Regions from separate parts of the Homo sapiens genome. Here regions 2, 3, 4, 5 and 6 are each linked to region 1. The links are contacts of gene promoters, found by promoter capture Hi-C in human tissues and cell types (Jung and others, 2019). All regions are on one chromosome and are shown on one strand. The core of a region is centred on a gene start or on the middle of the fragment in contact, and the rest is flanking DNA. Distances in the headings are between cores, read along the strand shown. Region 1 holds the start of SSTR1 (somatostatin receptor 1). Region 2 overlaps TTC6 (tetratricopeptide repeat domain 6). Region 3 has its middle 330 kb from the start of CLEC14A. Region 4 has its middle 15 kb from the start of LINC00517. Region 5 has its middle 280 kb from the start of CLEC14A. Region 6 has its middle 260 kb from the start of CLEC14A.

Evidence for each region. The method cuts DNA at HindIII sites, captures the fragments that hold promoters and counts their contacts. A contact is called where the count stands out against the background at its distance.
Region 2: a fragment that was not itself captured here is called in contact with the fragment with the promoter of SSTR1 in region 1 in 1 of the 25 tissues and cell types used here (mesendoderm cells).
Region 3: a contact is called between a fragment that was not itself captured here and the fragment with the promoter of SSTR1 in region 1, in 1 of the 25 tissues and cell types used here (mesenchymal stem cells).
Region 4: a fragment that was not itself captured here is called in contact with the fragment with the promoter of SSTR1 in region 1 in 1 of the 25 tissues and cell types used here (H1 embryonic stem cells).
Region 5: a contact is called between a fragment that was not itself captured here and the fragment with the promoter of SSTR1 in region 1, in 2 of the 25 tissues and cell types used here (mesenchymal stem cells and mesendoderm cells).
Region 6: a fragment that was not itself captured here is called in contact with the fragment with the promoter of SSTR1 in region 1 in 1 of the 25 tissues and cell types used here (mesendoderm cells).

What each region holds. Positions count from the first base shown.
Region 1 is chr14:38,206,509-38,209,429 of GRCh38, forward strand. It overlaps SSTR1 (somatostatin receptor 1), which reads left to right and starts at 1,396. Exons shown (of 3, transcript NM_001049.3): 1 at 1,396-1,596; 2 at 1,935-2,101; 3 at 2,538-2,921. The coding sequence starts at 2,882. LOC124903303 (a long non-coding RNA gene) reads right to left here and starts at 2,779. Exons shown (of 2, transcript XR_007064117.1): 1 at 2,574-2,779; 2 at 707-1,768. RefSeq lists enhancers at 1,198-1,859, 2,843-2,921. The HindIII fragment of the contact is 11,122 bases long and covers 398-2,921 here.
Region 2 is chr14:37,699,944-37,702,864 of GRCh38, forward strand. TTC6 (tetratricopeptide repeat domain 6) reads left to right here. Exons shown (of 33, transcript NM_001310135.5): 7 at 1,389-1,583. Among named protein-coding and RNA genes, the nearest start is that of TTC6, 110 kb to the left of the region's middle. The HindIII fragment of the contact is 5,282 bases long and covers 1-2,921 here.
Region 3 is chr14:38,579,953-38,582,873 of GRCh38, forward strand. No RefSeq gene overlaps it. Among named protein-coding and RNA genes, the nearest start is that of CLEC14A, 330 kb to the left of the region's middle. The HindIII fragment of the contact is 5,097 bases long and covers 1-2,921 here.
Region 4 is chr14:37,885,538-37,888,458 of GRCh38, forward strand. No RefSeq gene overlaps it. Among named protein-coding and RNA genes, the nearest start is that of LINC00517, 15 kb to the right of the region's middle. The HindIII fragment of the contact is 7,378 bases long and covers 1-2,921 here.
Region 5 is chr14:38,532,245-38,535,165 of GRCh38, forward strand. No RefSeq gene overlaps it. Among named protein-coding and RNA genes, the nearest start is that of CLEC14A, 280 kb to the left of the region's middle. The HindIII fragment of the contact is 4,397 bases long and covers 1-2,921 here.
Region 6 is chr14:38,512,120-38,515,040 of GRCh38, forward strand. No RefSeq gene overlaps it. Among named protein-coding and RNA genes, the nearest start is that of CLEC14A, 260 kb to the left of the region's middle. The HindIII fragment of the contact is 4,676 bases long and covers 1-2,921 here.

The DNA.
Region 1 (2,921 bases), core at 146-2,645:
TTTAAGCAATTGCCAAAATTTTTTTCTGAAGTTGCTGCATCATTTTTTATTCCCACCAGCAATGTATGAGTGTTCTAATTTCTCCACATTCTCACTAACGTTTATTTTTTGTTTTTAAAAATGTTCTTATAGCCATCCTAGTGGGTGAAAAGTGGCATCTCAAAAAAATAAAAATAAAAAGCATTCTCACGTCAGGTCTTAAGTTTTCTTCTTTTGTATATGAGGCCACAAAATTGAGAGAAATTTTCCCTAAGATGAGCTGAAAGTGAATTTAATGAAATTCTGAACAACAGAGCTGTTTTTCACTGACTCCCATCACACACTTCCCAAAGAGCAACCATGATCAAAGCCAAGGCATCTAAATAATGACTGTTGAAATCCAAGCTCCCAGAGGTACAGATAGTCAGGTGTCTTTAGTCAGTGATTGGCAGAGGCATCTAAGGCATTATATGAGGCTTGGCTAGTAAAATGCTCTTCTGGGATTCTGGGACAATACCCACTCTCTTTTCTTTTAACTTAATGAACATTTATTTTCTCTCCATATGTGCTGTATTTGTAAAGGAAAAATAAATATAACTAAACACCAATTGTACATTCCACTTTAAAGAAGGCAATTTGTTCAGGTAAAATAATGGGTTAAAACAGTTTCAGCCGTATGAAATTTCAAATTCCATCCTAGCACATTCCTCATTAATAATTGCACACATTCCTATGAAAGTCTGTCATTTATTTTAGTCTTTGATTGCTATCATCAACACACTACAGAAGTTATTCTTTCCTGTTCAAGACAATTAGTTTTGGGAACTAAAACACATGCAGTATATGTAAGTGATTACCTGGATAAAGCAACAGGGCATTAGGAAATATACTTTTTTGTTTTTAATTTCTGCATCCATTTCTTCATTCTGGACCGGTACAGATAGCCTCCATGAGGAGTTTAGCCTCTCCTTGGAGTAAACTCTACTGAGAGGAGGAAAACTGAGACTTACAGTACAGCGGGCACAGCCTGGTTGAGGAGAAGGAGAAACTAAGGAAAAACTGGAGACAGCAAAGCTTGAAGGAGGCAGAGCACTAAGCTGCTGCGGGTCACTCTTCCTGTGAACAGGCTAGTTTCAAATAAAGGCTTGCAGGGATCTTACCGAGCAAAGCAACGTTTATGAAAAGGAACAGGGAAGTTGCATGGAGTGTGATTCTTCCTTCCACAGGAACAGTTGGAAAGCCAAAGAGACCCTAGAGTAAGAATGGTGGTAAGTCCCAGGGTTCGTTTAAAATCCTGATAACGGAACATACATTCTTTCTTACGGGAAAACCGTTTTGATTCTTAAATGAAGTCAGTGAGCTTCAGGCTTGCCTACATTGATATCTCCTAATGGTTTGGGCACGTGACCCAGAGCCAGCTCACAAATCAAGCCTCAGAAAGAGCTGACATCCTAGCTCTTCCCGGAAAAACTCGAATGTCGCCCTGCCGTTCCTGGGGTTGGTGACAGGTCTGGTCATCGCACGGCGGCAGCTCCTCACCTGGATTTAGAAGAGCTGGCGTCCCCGCCCGCCCAAGCCTTTAAACTCTCGTCTGCCAGAACCCGCCAACTCTCCAGGGTACAAAGTACAGCAGGGACGCGGGTGGAGCCCTTCCAAGCGGCGCAGCCTTATCTTTCCCGAGTGAACACCTAGGTGGATTCCCAACACCGCGCCTGGCACGTTTCTGGAGGGAGTCTCAAGCTCCTCCAGAGCTCCCAGCTGCGCGTCCTCGTTTCTGCAGTCGATATTCCTGTGGGAGACACGGGGGGCTCTGAGCGCTACGAGCTTTATTAAGAGATTTGCGAATGGTTCACTCAGGTCCCTGAACACTCCCAATAGCCTAAGCTGCCTGCTGTGTTATAGCGCAGAAGCCCCTAACGCACGGTGGTTGTCCTTTCTTCTCATAACGCTCGCAGCTTAGGGCCAGTTTCCGCGATTCTAAGAGTAATTGCGTGGGCACCTGTGCTGGGGCCAGGCGCAAAGAAGGGAGTTGGTCTGCGCGAAGATCGTCAACCTGCTAACAGACCGCACATGCACTTTGCACCGACCATCTACGTCTCAGTCTGGAGGTTGCGCACTTTGGGTAAGGAGGGCCCGGAACTTCCCTGGCGGGTCTGAGCTGCAAGGCAAGCGAGGGTGGGAAGAGGGAATTTAGGGTTCTGGACTGCGGGACGGGAGAGAAGCTGGGGTCTCCAGAGAAAAGGGCAGCAATGGAGGGAAACTGAGATGAACTCCAGACATCCATGTTCATGGATCCGTTTGAGTCTTTGCTTTGGGTAGGAGAGGAGTGGAATGAGACAGAATCTATACCTTTGGTTCCCACCCGCCCTCCAGTAAGGCCGAGGAACTCTCTTGGTTCCTCTGAGAGCAAGAGGCAGATGGTGCTGCGAGGGAACCCCGGAAGGAGCCACTAAAGTTGAGCAGAGTGCAGGACTGGGAAGGAAAAAAATGGGGGGCGGGGGGGACAAGCCACCTATGTGCTCTCCTCCCTTTCTCCACCCCACCCCCTTTTTTCGTAGCTGCTGACGCGCTGGTGGTGCCTATTAATCATTTACCAGTCCAGAGCCGCGCCAGTTAATGGCTGTGCCGTGCGGTGCTCCCACATCCTGGCCTCTCCTCTCCACGGTCGCCTGTGCCCGGGCACCCCGGAGCTGCAAACTGCAGAGCCCAGGCAACCGCTGGGCTGTGCGCCCCGCCGGCGCCGGTAGGAGCCGCGCTCCCCGCAGCGGTTGCGCTCTACCCGGAGGCGCTGGGCGGCTGTGGGCTGCAGGCAAGCGGTCGGGTGGGGAGGGAGGGCGCAGGCGGCGGGTGCGCGAGGAGAAAGCCCCAGCCCTGGCAGCCCCACTGGCCCCCCTCAGCTGGGATGTTCCCCAATGGCACCGCCTCCTCTCCTTCCTCCTCTC
Region 2 (2,921 bases), core at 282-2,781, 510 kb before region 1:
GAAAACCAATGGCTAAGTCATATTATGATGAATTTGAGAGGTAGATGGAAATCTGGGATATTGCAGCTTTAAAGGCCCATGAAGGAAGAGCAATTTCAACAAGTTATTCATATTCTCAGCTGTGTTTTGGGGGTCAGAAGAGAACATGACCTAAAGATCTAAAGCTGATTGGATTGGATTTGATTTGATGAAAAGAAGGTCATTTGGTTGTATAAGCTTTAGTAGGAAGGTAGGGATGGAGTACTTCTGGAGAAGGGCCACTTCCACCCAGAAGTCACTAATAGGCAAGAAATGTGGCCAATAGCCAGTAATGTTGTGTTTGGATGCCAGGGCTTACCCACTAATTTTGTGACCTACCCAAAATAAGGATAATTATACCTCCAATACAGCTTCGTTGTGGGAATTAGAGAAAATGTGTGTAGAGGACCTAGCACAGAATCTGGCATATAGTAGGTGCTCAATAATTATTTGTTGATTGGATTACAGGTGGCACTGGGGATTAAGAAAGGAGATTTTTGGCTAGGCGCAGTGGCTCACGCCTGTAATCCCAGCACTTTGGGAGGCCAAGGCAGGCAGATTACTTGAGGTCAGGAGTCTGAGACCAGCCTTGCCAACATTGGGAAACCCCATCTCTACTAAAACCACAAACATTAGCTGGGCGTGGTGGTACGGGCCTGTAGTCCCAGCTACTCAGGAGGCTGAGGCAGGAGAATCACTTGAACCTGGGAGGCGGCGGTTGCAGTGAGCCAAGATTGTGCTACTGCATCCCAGCCTGAGACTGGGTGACAGAGTGAGACTCCATCTCACAAAAAAAAAAAAAAAAAAAAAAAAGCAGATTTTCATGTCATCCTCTCTACTTAGGAAAGACAGAAGAGAGATACAAGTCCAAGCAGAGTGGGAAAGGAGATGCCACACTGACTCAGAGAAACCCAGAGTTCTATCAATGCTAGTTAATGGATAATGCCCTACCTATATTGTTCCACTTCTTTAGGGACATTAGCATTTGACCAGAGTAGCAAAGGAGTAATACATGATGGCTGGATATGGTGTCCACAGACTGAGTTTCAGAATTCAGGAGAGAAGAGGTTGGGGTGGGATGATAAAGAGTTTGTTTTTAGACTTGTTGATCCTGAGATGCCTGTAGACTGTTGTCTGTAGAGGTGTAGGTTGAGCTATTCAGCAGGCAGTTGGATACAAGTTTAAAGCTCTGGACAATGGCCTGAGATTGTGATATTAAATTTGTTATATACCATTATTATAGTTTTAAATCAGATCTCCTCCATTTATGTATGTCTTTAGAACCTGAACTAAATTGTCAGTATAAATGTACTTTATATCTAAAGTCCACAAAATGATGAAAGGAGCTCACTTTCTTTTCTCTGTTGCAGAATTCCACAAGACTACTCCATGCCGCACCTTCATGATCTGTGCACCACCATCCCAGCCCAGGAGCTGCCTGTTGACTTGCGCCTGGCTTCTCGAGTGTATCACACTGCTAACAGGAAAGGCCACGATACCCTGCTTGGAAAATTTGGAACCTCTTTCTTAGATGATCGCTTTACAGATGAAGAACAAACAGATAGGTAAGAGTTCCACTGGTAATTTGATTTTAAGCTAAATGTAAACTGTCATATAAATCCTGCCTTTTGAGTTCTAGATTTTAAAGACTTGATTCTGTTCTTGGACACTAAAGAGGAGGGAGCAGTTTTTGTTTTTTTCTGCTGCTTCCTCAGGTATACAGTCTAGGTCTGTGTCTCCATTTCCTGACAATATTAACATGAACCCATTCCCAATTGTAAGGTAACTTTAGTATTCCCAGAGTGTTACATACATGATCTCATTTGTTTGTCATCACAGCTCTGGAGTACAGATGTGGAAATTGAGAGTAATAAAATTTAAGCAATTAGCTACACATAGACAATTTAAAAAATCACAGATTTGACACTTGGACCCAGTCTTTTGAACTAGATTTCACCATCATTGGGTATACTTGGGTCCAGGGATCACATACAAAAGTCATTGCTCTTGGAGTTTGTTCTCCTTCTCCTTGGGTCTCACCTTCCTTTGGAATCTGCATATTCTTTTGTGGAGAGTATATAATTTATAGCATCCTCAAAAGAAAGGAGAAAAGGGAAGGAACCTAATGTTTATGCAGCAGTAACTATATTCCGAGCAACTGTGCTGTGTGCTTTGCATATGTTTCCTATTTAAATCTTCAACTGTAAGGGAGAAGTTGTAATTTCCATTTTATTCATGAAGAAATTTAGGGTTCGTGATACCAGGTTACTTGCTGAAGTTCTTATCTCTTGATAGTGATAGAATCCAGGTTTGTCTAACTCAGTTTTTCTCAGCCTTTTCATTATCACCCACTTAAAGAGAATTTTAAGGCTTTTTTTCTTCTAATCGCCCCTCCTGATTAAATTTTAATATGCCAGATATACTGTATATCTGTTTATATACTATATGAATGTATGTGCTTTATAAATAAAAAGAGCAAACTTTAATCACACTGTGCTCCCCCGACCCAAAGCACCAATTTTTACCTCCTGGGAGGGATATCACCTGCCCATTGAGAATGCTTGCTCTACAGTCTCTCGCCTTTCAGAAGCCATGGTAAAAATACTGAAAAATGTACTGCATGTTTTAAGACAATTACAAATGTTAAATATTAAGTTAAATGGAAACTTTTTTAGTATTATAATTTAACTATCCTAGGTATATGAGAATACTATTCTAAAAGATCACTTTTAATGACACTATCACAAGATTATTAGTACCCATACTTTTCATGGTATATTTTGAATGCATTTTCTCAAACTTGACTTCTAGTAAAAATTGCAATGCTAGTGCATCCTTTCATGAATTAAAAATTACCTGGTTTCCCAGTGATTAGCAATCACAATTGGTTTCTATTTGAATCC
Region 3 (2,921 bases), core at 295-2,794, 370 kb after region 1:
CATTAAGTTGTCATGTGAACTTAAAGAAATAAGCATTAAAAATCACTCAATTTCTGGTCAAAACAGGAGTAAAAGAGACCAAATTTACCCTCCTTCCTGTGGTTCCAAAAAATAAATAAATAAAAGAATTAAAAAAAAAACTTTTTCAAGACACTGTACATCAGACAACAAAGGACAATGATCTTTGAGAGACAGAAACCCAACAAGGTAAGTGAAAATGTGCCTCAGCTTACTATTTTAAATTCCCAAGCCATGCTGCAGGGAGAAGAAAAGCAGGAAGTACCCAGCAGATCTCCTGAGTTGAGGAAACCAAGGTTGCTAGAATTCTCAGGACAGCATACCAGAGAGGAGAAAACTGTGTAGAACAGGAGTGCCTGAGACCCGCAGAGTTCTCCTCAGGTTTTCAGTTGATTACTGATCAACACATATTCTTTAAGAAATTACCTAAGGCTGAGGAAAGATCCACCCAAAAGAATTAGAGCTAGTGATACTTGGTTTTCCCAGGAGTCCAGGAATAGTGCCTGTTGCCACCAGCCAGACTTGGAAAATTTAAGATTCATAGGGCTTGGATAGAAAACACATAAGAGCCTTGCTTCAGTACTGGGGGATAATTAGCCCTAAACTGAGCACTGCCCTGGTCCGACCCGCCAAAACTTAAAAGTAAGAATATCCACAATAAACAAAAAACTCAGAACTCAGTAAGAAACAAACAACTCAATTAAAAATGGGGAAAAAAGTGAACACACTTCAACAAAAATTATGCAAAGGACAAATAAACATATGAAAAGATACTGAACATCATATGTCATTAAAAAAAATAAATAATTAAAACTCCAATGAGATACTACTTTACATCCACTAGGATTACTAAAATTTAAAAGACTGGCCATACCATTTGTTGCTAAGGATGTGGAAGAACTGGAACTCTCATGCACTACTGGTTGGAATGTAAAACGGTATGATGACTTTGGAAAACAACGTTATTGTTGCTTATAAGTTAAACAGACATCTACCATATAATCCAGATATCTACCAATTTCCTCTAGAGTATTTCCTCAAGTATTTACCTATGATAAAGAATATGCCCAAAGACTTTTGTAGGAATATTCACAGCAGCTTTGTTATATACAAAAACTGGAAGCTTGCAAATGTCTAAGTGGTATATTCTATAATGGAATAATGGAAATATAAACAAGTAACTATGGATACATGCAAAAACACAGATGAATCTCATAATAATATGCCTAGTAACAGCAGCCATATGCCTCCCCACAAAAGTTCACATACTGTATGATCACATTTATATAAAATTATATAGTATGCTAACTAAACTATAGCAACAGAAAGTAATCAGTTGTTACCTGGGCATGGCACAGAAGGAAGACGAGAAGAAGAAGACAGAGTTTATATAAAGGGCATGAGGAAATGTTAAATAAATGGTTATGTTCATTATTGTAATTTTGGTGATAATTTCATAGATGTATACAAAAGTCAAAACTTTTTCAGTTGTATAGATTAAATATGTACAGTTTATATACATCACTTATACATTAAGCCATATGAAAAAGGGGTCACTCCAAGGAAAATTTCATAATTTTCTGTGATATAACAAAGTTCATATTTCATATTTCATACCACACATTTTTTTCTGGTTTTTTCATAAATGAGAAATAATTTTTTCCTGCAAGGCTCTTTTTATACTCCATGATTCTTTCAATGTTTCCAACCTTATGAACAAAATGCTTTCAGTGAATACACAGACTATGTATGTTATTACAGCTATTCCTGCAGCTCATTCTAAGTTTTCATTTGTTTTGTAAGTATATTTGTAAATATATAAATATAAAAATATTTTATCTGAATTATATGCACACTGTAATAGTATTATCATAGTGACCTTAAGTTTTGAAATGAAATACCTTTTCTTATATGAATGAGCTTGACATATCTGACTAGTAATAGGTTGAAAAATCATATACCATATCTTTGCATTGGCTACATAATTAGATGTCTACATAGTATGTATATTCAAAATAGAATCTAGGTTTATTCCCAGCTTTGGCCAGGTAAGCCAAAAATAATTTGGTGCTGATGATATAAAAGTTTAACAAAATTGCAAACAGTCTTAAAAAGCAAATTGAGGTCTATTGAAACAATCCTTCACTATAGAAATCCAATAGCCAGGATTTTCTTTGGAATGCTAATGCAGCTGTTATTCATTGTAGGAATGTAGGACACACATTCAGGGCTGTATTTTTTAATAATAAGCAAGAGGATTTATGTTTCCTGCTGTAATCAGTAAATACAGCAAATCGACATTCTATGTTGAACTTTTTACTCCTCATTTCCACCTTCTTTTGTCTCCTCTTTCCCCCAAAAAGCAAAACATAGAAACAAACAAAAGCAAAACAGCATATAATAATCTCTTTATATTTTCTCAATACTCTTGTGGGGGCCAATGGTCTTGCTAAAGTTGCTGAAAAATCAGACATGAGGACAACTGATTAATAGGAGAAAAGGCATACAAAGTTATTTAACTTGTATCCACAGGAGTCTTCAGAATGAAGACTCAAACCCCAGTGAACACCATCTTGAGGTTATAGAAAGAATGGGGGCCCAGCTGTGCATTGTGGCTCACGTCTGTAATCCCAGTGCTTTGGGAGGCCAAAGCGGGCGGATCACCTGAGGTCAGGAGTTTGAGACCAGCCTGGCCAACCTGGTGAGACTCCATCTCTACTAAAAATACAAAAATTATCCAGGCATGGTGGTGGGCGCCTGTAATCCCAGCTACTCAGAAGGCTGAGACAGGAGAATCGCTTGAACCCAGGAGGCGGAGGTTGCAGTGAGCTGAGATCATGCCACCGCACTCCAGCCTGAGTGACAGAACGAGACTCCATCTCAAAAAAGAAGAGGAGAGAGAG
Region 4 (2,921 bases), core at 155-2,654, 320 kb before region 1:
TTCAGATGCTCTATTTCTTCTTTTGTGAATTTTAACAGATTGCATTTTTCAATAAATTGGTCCATTTTATTTAGGTTGTAACATTTATGGGCATAGTAATTATTTTATTATCCTTTTAATGTCCATGGGATATTTACTGAGGTCCCTAATTTCATTTTCATTTATTGATTTGTGTGTTCTCTCTCTTTCTTTTTTTTGCTTAGCCTGGCTAGAGGCTTATTGATTTTTATTGATCTTTTCAAAGAACCAGCTTTTGGTTTTACTGATATTTTTCTATTGATTTCCTGCTTTCAATTTTATTGATTTCTAGTAATAATAATAATAATAATTTTCTTCTGCTTATTTTGGATTTAGTTTGTTTTTCTTTTTCTAGTTTTCTTATGTGGAGACTTAGATCATTGACTTTACATATTTCTTCTTTTCTAATGTAATCATTCAATGCTAATATAATCATTCAATGCTACAAATTTCTCTCTACACAGTGCTTTCACTGAATCCCCCCAGTTTTTTAAATTGTATTTTCTATTTTATTTAGCTTAAAATATTTTGTTTATTTTTTCTTTTTTTGACAGAGTCTCACTCTGTTGTCCAGGCTGGAGTGCAGTGGCATGATCTTGGCTCACTGCAACCTTTACCTCCTGGGGTTAAGCAATTCTCCTGCCTCAGCCTCCTGAGTAGCTGGGACTACAGGCACGCACCACTACACCTGGCTAATTTTTGTATTTTTGGTAGAGACAGGGTTTCATCATGTTCGCCAGGCTGGTCTTGAACTTCTGGCCTCAAGTAATCCACCTGCCTTGGCCTCCCAAAGTGTTGGGATTACAGGTGTGAGCCACTGTGCCCAGCCAAAATATTTTAAAATTTTTATTAAGATTTTTTCTTTGACCCATATTATTTAGAAGTGTGTTGTTTAATCTTCAAGTATTTTTAGATTTTCTAGACATTCTTCTGTTATTGATTTCTAGTTTAATTCCATTGTGGTTTGAGGTATTATATGATTCTATTATATTAAATTTGCTAAGGTTTGTTTTATGGCCCCAAATGTAATCTATCTTTTGGATGCTTCTCGTGAACTTGAAGAATGTATATTCTGCTACTGTTGGATGAAATAGTCTATAGATGTCTGCTATATCCAGTTAATTGATGATGCTAGTGAGTTCAACTATGTTCTTACTGGCTTTCTGCCTGTTGGACCTATCCATTTTTGATAGAGGGATATTAAAGTCTGCAACTATAATAGTGGATTAATCTATTTATCCTTGCAGTTCTGTCAGTTTTTGCCTCATGTATTTTGATGCTTTGTTGTTGGGTGCATACACATTAAAGATTGTTATGTCTTCTTGAGAGTATTGACCCTTTTTTTAAATCATTATATAATGTTCTTCTTTATTCCTGATAACTTGTTTGCTCTGAAATCTGCTCTGTCTGAAATAAATATCGTTACTACATTTTTCTTTTGATTAGTAAGATCATGGTATATCTTTTTCCATTCGTTTAATCTATATGTGTCTTTATATTTAAAGGGGATTTCAGCTGGACAACAAATAGTTCATATAGTTGGTCCTTGTTTTTTGATTCCTCTGACAATTTTCTTTCTTTCTTTCTTTCTTTTTTTTTAAGAGTCTATTTCTGCCTCTCAGGCTGGAGTGCAGTAGTATAATCACAGCTCACTGTAACCTCTAATTCCTGGGCTCAAGCCATCCTCCTGCCTCAACCTCCCAAGTAGCTAGGACTCCAGGCATGTACTACTATGCTCAGCCAATTTTTAAAGTTTTTTTGTAGAGACAGGGCTTTGGTATGTTACCCAGGCTAGTCTTGAGCTCCTGGTTTCAAGTGATTCTCCCACCACAGCCTCCCAAAGTGCTGGAATTACTGGCATGAGCCATTGCACCTGGCCAACAATCTGTATCTTTTAATTTGTGCATTAGGCCACTGACGTTTATGGTGATGATTGATATAGTTCAATTAACACCTGCTACATTTGTTACTGTTTTCTATTTGTTGCCCTTATTCTTTCTTCCCATTTTTTCCACTTCTTTTATGCATTTTGTGGTTTTAAAGGAGCATTTTATATGATTCAATCTTCTCTCCTTTCTTATCAATTATACTCATTTTTTAAAAGCTTTTTTTTTTTTAAAGTGGGTGCTCTAGAGTTTGCAATACATGTTTACAACTAATTCTACTTCACTTTCAGATAACACTATAACACTTCATGGGTACTGTGAGTACCTTACGATAACAAAGTATTCCTAATTCCTTCCTCAGCCCTGTTTCTTGTGTCTTCACTGCCATTCACTTACACACACACGCGCGCGCGCGCACGCACACACAGACATATATAATCAAATACATTGTTACTGTTATTTTGAACATGTTATTATCTGTTAGATCTATTAAGAATAAAAAAAGTAAATGTTTTTATTTTACCTTTATTTCTTCAGGTACTGGTTGCTGTGAAGGTTTCTGCTCTGCTAAGTTGTGATTCTCTGTATCTGCCTGTCTGTCTCCAGTTTTTGGGGTGGTGGTTTTCCCTGTGACCTCCCTTCTCTGATAGATCTAAGAAGAGTTGTTGATGTTCCTGTTTGTTTAGCTCTTCACTTTTTGGGTTGCAGTGAAGACTTGTTAGCTGCTTACATGCCAGATTAGAAACTGGAAGTCTGTGTATTTTCATAAAAGGGATACAATACATAAAGAGATACAATCTATTGGAATATTATACTGTAAAGTTAGAAAAAAGCTAGAATGAAGCTACCGCTTTCTCTTCTATTTTTGTGATTTTAAGCCAGGAAAAATGAGAGGATCTAATTCCCTTCAGAGAGATTTCTTACTCTCACTGTGGGTAGCTCTGGAGCCCTTCTATATGAATATGTTATCAGTATATTGTAATGTATTCAGTGTCCTCTGGGGGCCTGGCAGTGTGC
Region 5 (2,921 bases), core at 123-2,622, 330 kb after region 1:
GAGCAGTCAGGTTTTATTTTTTTTTTTATTAAGGTCTTCAAATGATTGGGTGAGGCCTACTTACATTATGAAGGGTAATCTGCTTTTCTCAAAGTCTACTGATATAAATGTTAATCTCATCTTTAAAAAAAAAAAAGGTTTACAGAAACATCTAGAAGAATGTTTGACCAACCATCTCTTTTCCATGCCTAGCCAAGTTGACACAAAAAATTATTAACCATTACAAGTCTACCCCTCATCAACATGGCACCCTTACATATCTTCTTAAATAATACTAATCTCCAAACAAAGATAATAGCAAGGTAATACCTCCACATGACATGATAAAATTATCCCGCGTTTTCCAGAAAGGCACTAACGCTTTCTGTAGAGGAGGATGTGGAGTACTTGGGTGATATGCTCATTCTGCTAACAGATTCCATTTCTCAGAATAGTGCCCAGGGAAGAGCCTCACTAAAAAAAAAAAAACAGTAATGAAATCATGGCTTCCCATGGAATGTCAATTTATGGCTGCTATTTTAAGAGATCCTTTAATTACTTGTTTTCTGGAGCAGTAGGTTTGCCACATAAAACCATTTTCTTTTATCTGTTGAATGTTCAAACTTAGCTCTAAATTCTGACTCTGATACAAATACTACATATGTGACAGAAAAAAAGAAAACCTCATGAATTAAATTCAGAATGTCTCTTGCATTTTCTTTCTCTCACCATGTGATTTTTTTAGCCCTTTGGGAGAAGGGACAGAAATTTGCATTGCACAGAGTACTTTGTGCAAATAGCATTAACAGTAAGTATAGATAACTGATTTGAGGCTTAAGGAAAAGCTAAACAGTAAATTGTTACAAATAAATTTTCTACCGTAAAGACTGTGGTTTAACTGATATATTTAAGAGCCAGATTCTTGGAAGGAGCTTACCAATGGAAAAGATACAGTGTTAGTAACATTGTAAACTATTGACCTCAATCTTTCCTTCTGCACTGGTTCACAAATGCTTTGCCATATAGGATTTTTAATGATATCCAGTTCTCCCGCCTGGTAAACATAAGATCAAATCTTGCTTTACAAAGAGTATTTGGATACGCTCTATCCTTGCAGATAATATGTGCTGATCACATTTGTGGAGTGAATATAAGAAATAAAGAAATTAAAAGTGTTCCTAAGGGGAACATCACACACGAGGGCCTGCTGGGGGGTGGGGGACTACGGGAGGAATACCATTAGGAGAAATACCTAATGTAGATCAAGGGTTGATGGGTGCAGCAAACCACCATGGCACGTGTATACCTATGTAACAAACCTGCACATTCTGCACATGTATCCCAGAATTTAAAGTATAACAACAACAAAAACCTAGATTAAAGAAAAAAAAGTTTCCCTAAACTCTTGTTATTAACAAACAAAATCTCACACCAAAAGTAAAGCTAGAGACTAGAAGAGAAACTACAAGCTGCTTAATCTCAAAGCTGGGGTAACGTAAGTAAAGTGCATTCAGGTCGAAGCCTGGAGGAGAGATGACCTGAAGCTTGGTAAGTTCTTCAAACCTGTAGCAGCAATAATATCATCCCATGCTTTCATCCTATGCCTGTCCAATGGGTACAATGAACTGTAATGGTGAGATACTCCTGAGATGGCAGCCTTCAGAAAAGACTTTTTGACACATAAAGCTTGTCGATACTGACCCTTGTTTGTAAGCGTTCTTTAGTAATGTCTGTACTGGAACGAAGAGTGTCCCCTCAAAATTCACGTCCATCCAGAAGCTCAGAATGTGACCTTTGGAAATAGTGTCTTTGTATATGTAACTAGTTATGTTATAGCAAAGTTATACTGGATTACGGTAGACCCTAAATCCAATGACTGATGTCCCTTTAAGAAGACTATGTAAAGACACAGAGAAGAAACCATATGAAGACCAAGGCAGAGACTGGATTGATGCATTGCAAGCTAAGGAATGCCAAGGATTGCCATCCATCACCAGAGGCTAGAAAAAGCAGAGGAAGATTCTTTCCTAGGGCCTTTGGAGGGAGTATGGCTCTACTGAAATCTTCTTTTCAGACTTTCAGCCTCGAGAACTATAGAAGAATAAATTGCTGTATTTTTAAACCATCCAGTTTGCAGTAATTTGGTTATTTATTTATTTATTTATTTATTTATGTTGAGACAGAGTCTCACTCTGTAGCCCAGGTTGGAGTGGAGTGGTGTGATCTCAGCTCACTGCAACCTCCGCCTCTTGGGTTCAAGCAATTCTCATGCCTCAGCCTCCCAAGCAGCTGGTATTACAGGCATGCACCACCACACCTGGCTAATTTTTATATTTTTAGTAGAGATGGGGTTTTGTCATGTTGGCCAGGCTGGTCTCGAACTCCTGACCTCAAGTGATCCACCCACCTCGGCCTCCCAAAGTACTGCGATTACAGGTGTGAGCCACTGTGCCTGGCCCCAGTTCATAGTAATTTGTTACAGCAGCCATAAGAAACTAATTTTAAGTTAATAATAATTTGCAAATGAAATCTATAGTCTCGTGGTTTAAAAAATTATTTATTGGGCTTTTAAGTTATAACAGCAATACAGATTTAATCTAACAAATCAAAATGTAGAAACTGATAAAGCCAAAAGTAAAAGCCATACCTTTATAACACAGATTTTACCCTGAATATTTATATTTTTGACTTTTTCTATGAATATATATAAGCACCTTTTTCTTTTTTTCTTTTCTTTTCTTTACAAAACTAGGATCATCCTGTGCATGTTTTTCATCTTGTTTTTCATTCACTATGTTAAAAAAATATATGGACACTTTTACATGTCAATATATAGAAATCAACATCCTCCTTCGAGTAGGCTATGTAATATTCCATTAGAGCCACCATCTCATAATTCACATTTTATAAAATTCACATTTATTATCTACTATGTGCTAGGA
Region 6 (2,921 bases), core at 222-2,721, 310 kb after region 1:
CACTGGGAAGACAGTCCAGCCAAATCTTTAAAGGTAATAACGTAAGAGAATCTAATACAATATAGCCCTGACTTGTTTGTTGTGATACATCATGTGTCATTTTTCAGACTTCAAGTTTCACTGGGTCCTAACTAGAACAATTTTGAAAGGTTTCTGTTGTCAGAAGTTAAATTAGTTTGTTTGTTGTTTTTTAAGTAGATTAAATTGACTACCACTTGACATTTTTTGGAAAAGAACTCAGAACTTTTCATCCACATTCAAGTCTGATATCTTCTACCCTCTCTTAGAAAATAGATTTAGTACCATCTGGTTTGTTGTAGCAAAATGTTGCAGCAGCATTTGACTCCAAGAAAATAGACTCAGAAATCAGAAATGTGAAAAATGCTTTCATAGTTTCTGTTTCCTTCAATGTAATGAAATCCTAGTGCATACCTTTGTAAATTTAGGTCTAAGACATATGAGTCTATCAAAATGATATCAGGAAGGAAATGGTTTAGTATATTATTGAAGTATCCAAATATTGAGCATTCAGTAGGTATCAAAGAGGCTTTAAACAAAATAATTTACAAAGACAAGTCTTATATCACTTGAATTGCTGATGCCTGGATGGGATATATTTTTTATCTACCCTTAGTTCTCAGTTCTTCTAATCAGCCATAATAATTGAGCTTGATGTCATACATAAAAAAGTAAGAGTACTTTATGGCATTCACAGAAAGGCCTAACCAAAAAAAAAAAGCGTGATACTTAATTCATTTTCTAATTTTCTAATTGATTCTTTATAGAGCCACTTATGGAGACTAATTCCTATTACTTCGAGAGTTTAGGGAAAATGTTTCAATTTTAGTATTTTCTATGTTCTAACAATTTTGTTGGCATGACTAACAATCAACAAATTCAGTTACTGTAGGAAATTGTGGCTAGCACTTTTGACACCACTAATGCAATAAGTTAACAAACTATACATGGCGTGTATCTTTACTGCCTGATCACCAGCTATGACAGCTTTTTAGGTCATCCTTATTTATCCTGCCAGCACACTCATCTTCCAGTAGTTGCACATTACTTTATCCAGCACAGGTACAATGCACCTAGAAGAATTTTTTGACAAAGAGTTTGAGGTCTTCTCAGATTGAATCATTCCCCTGAGAACCTTTTATACCTTCTAACTCTGGTGTCATGTTAATGATAACAGGTGGTGTTGGGCTTATCACTTTTAGTATAAACATGCCTTTTAAGCCTAGCATCGTGCATACCATTTATCTAGAGATCTTCTAGCAACTTGACACTTTTAGCACACCTTTGAGCCAAAAACCCATAAATGCTGGAAAATATTCATCTATATGTATCATTCTTTCTCAAAGATGGCACTACTGGGAATGTCTTCAGTACAATTGAGGGAAAAAAGATAAAGCAAAGTATCCTGTGCTGTGCTGTCTCTTCTTACTTGTAAATCTTCTAAGTGACAAATTTTGTGTTAAGAGTGTGATTCTCAAAGCTGTGAAATGAAGGGGCAGAATTACCTATGCAGAGTAGATGTTTAATAAAAGTTTGCTGGTTAAGTGATGTGATGATATAAGAAAGAGATAAATAAATTGTATTAGTTTCCTAGGGATGCCCCTACTAAGTATCACAAACTGAATAGCTTAAAACACAAGAAATTTATTCTCTCATAGTTCTGGAGGCCAAAAATCCAAAATCAAGTTGTCATCATGGCCATGGTTGCTCTGAGACTCTGGGTAGAATCTCTCCTTGCTTCTTCCCAGCCTCCAGTGATAAACATCAAATCTTGCTATGCCTTGGCTTGCAACTGCATCATTCCAATCTCTTCCTCTGTCATCCTATGGTATATTTCCATCTTCACATGGCATTTTTCCTCTTCCTAGAAGGATATCAGTCATATTGGATTAGAGTCCACTTAATGACCTCTTCTTTACTTGATTACATCTGCAAAGACTCATTTCTAAATGAGGTCACATTCACAGGTACTGGATGTTAGGACTTCAATTTATTTTTTTTCTTGGAGAGGTAGACACAATTCAACCCCTAACACAAGGGCACAGGGATGCACATAGAATAGAAACATTCCTTAGAGCATTTCTGAAAATAACTCTTAATACTGGTATTTTAAATGCTATAATACTTTCTAAGTCCAAACATTCGAGTTGGGTCTCTGAAGTGTTCCTTTTGTTATCCTTATTTCCTTAATTTCTACTTTTTATTTCATTTTTCATACTTTCTTCTGATAATGTTTTCAAATCATCAATATCAATTTAGTTTCCAACTGCTCAAATTTCTGCAACTTATGGATCTTCTGATGACCCATAAGCAACTACTTATTTTTGTGTTCTCTGTTGCAAAGGGGTATCAAGTTACTTAGGCACAAAATGAAAGACCATACCTGTATTCTTGCCTCCATTAAAAATCATCTTGGATATTATATGTAATAAATATTTTCTACTAATCCCAATCCTGATGCTAATGTTAAATGCAAATGCTGTGTAAAAATTGGTAACCCAAATCCTTTATATTGTCCTCACTCTTGAATTTGGTATATGCTGTTGTAACCACCTGGATGATCCAATCACTCCTTGAATAAATATTAATTGAAATTCTAGGCCCAGCATGGTGGCACATGCCTATAATCCTAGCTACTTGAGAGGCTGAGGCAGGAGAATCGCTTGAACCCACGAGGTGGAGGTTGCCCTGAGCTGAGATCACACCACCGCACTCCAGCCTGGCCAACAGAGCTAAGACTCTATCTCAAAAGAAAAAAGAAAGAAATTCTAGCATACCCAAAGTCAGAAAGTCAGATTTGCTATCTGTACTTCAAAATTCATTGCTCTTTTTCCCAGGTAGCCTAATTCCATTAGACATACTCATTTTTTTTTCTAAATAAATCAAACCAGAAGATTTAAAGC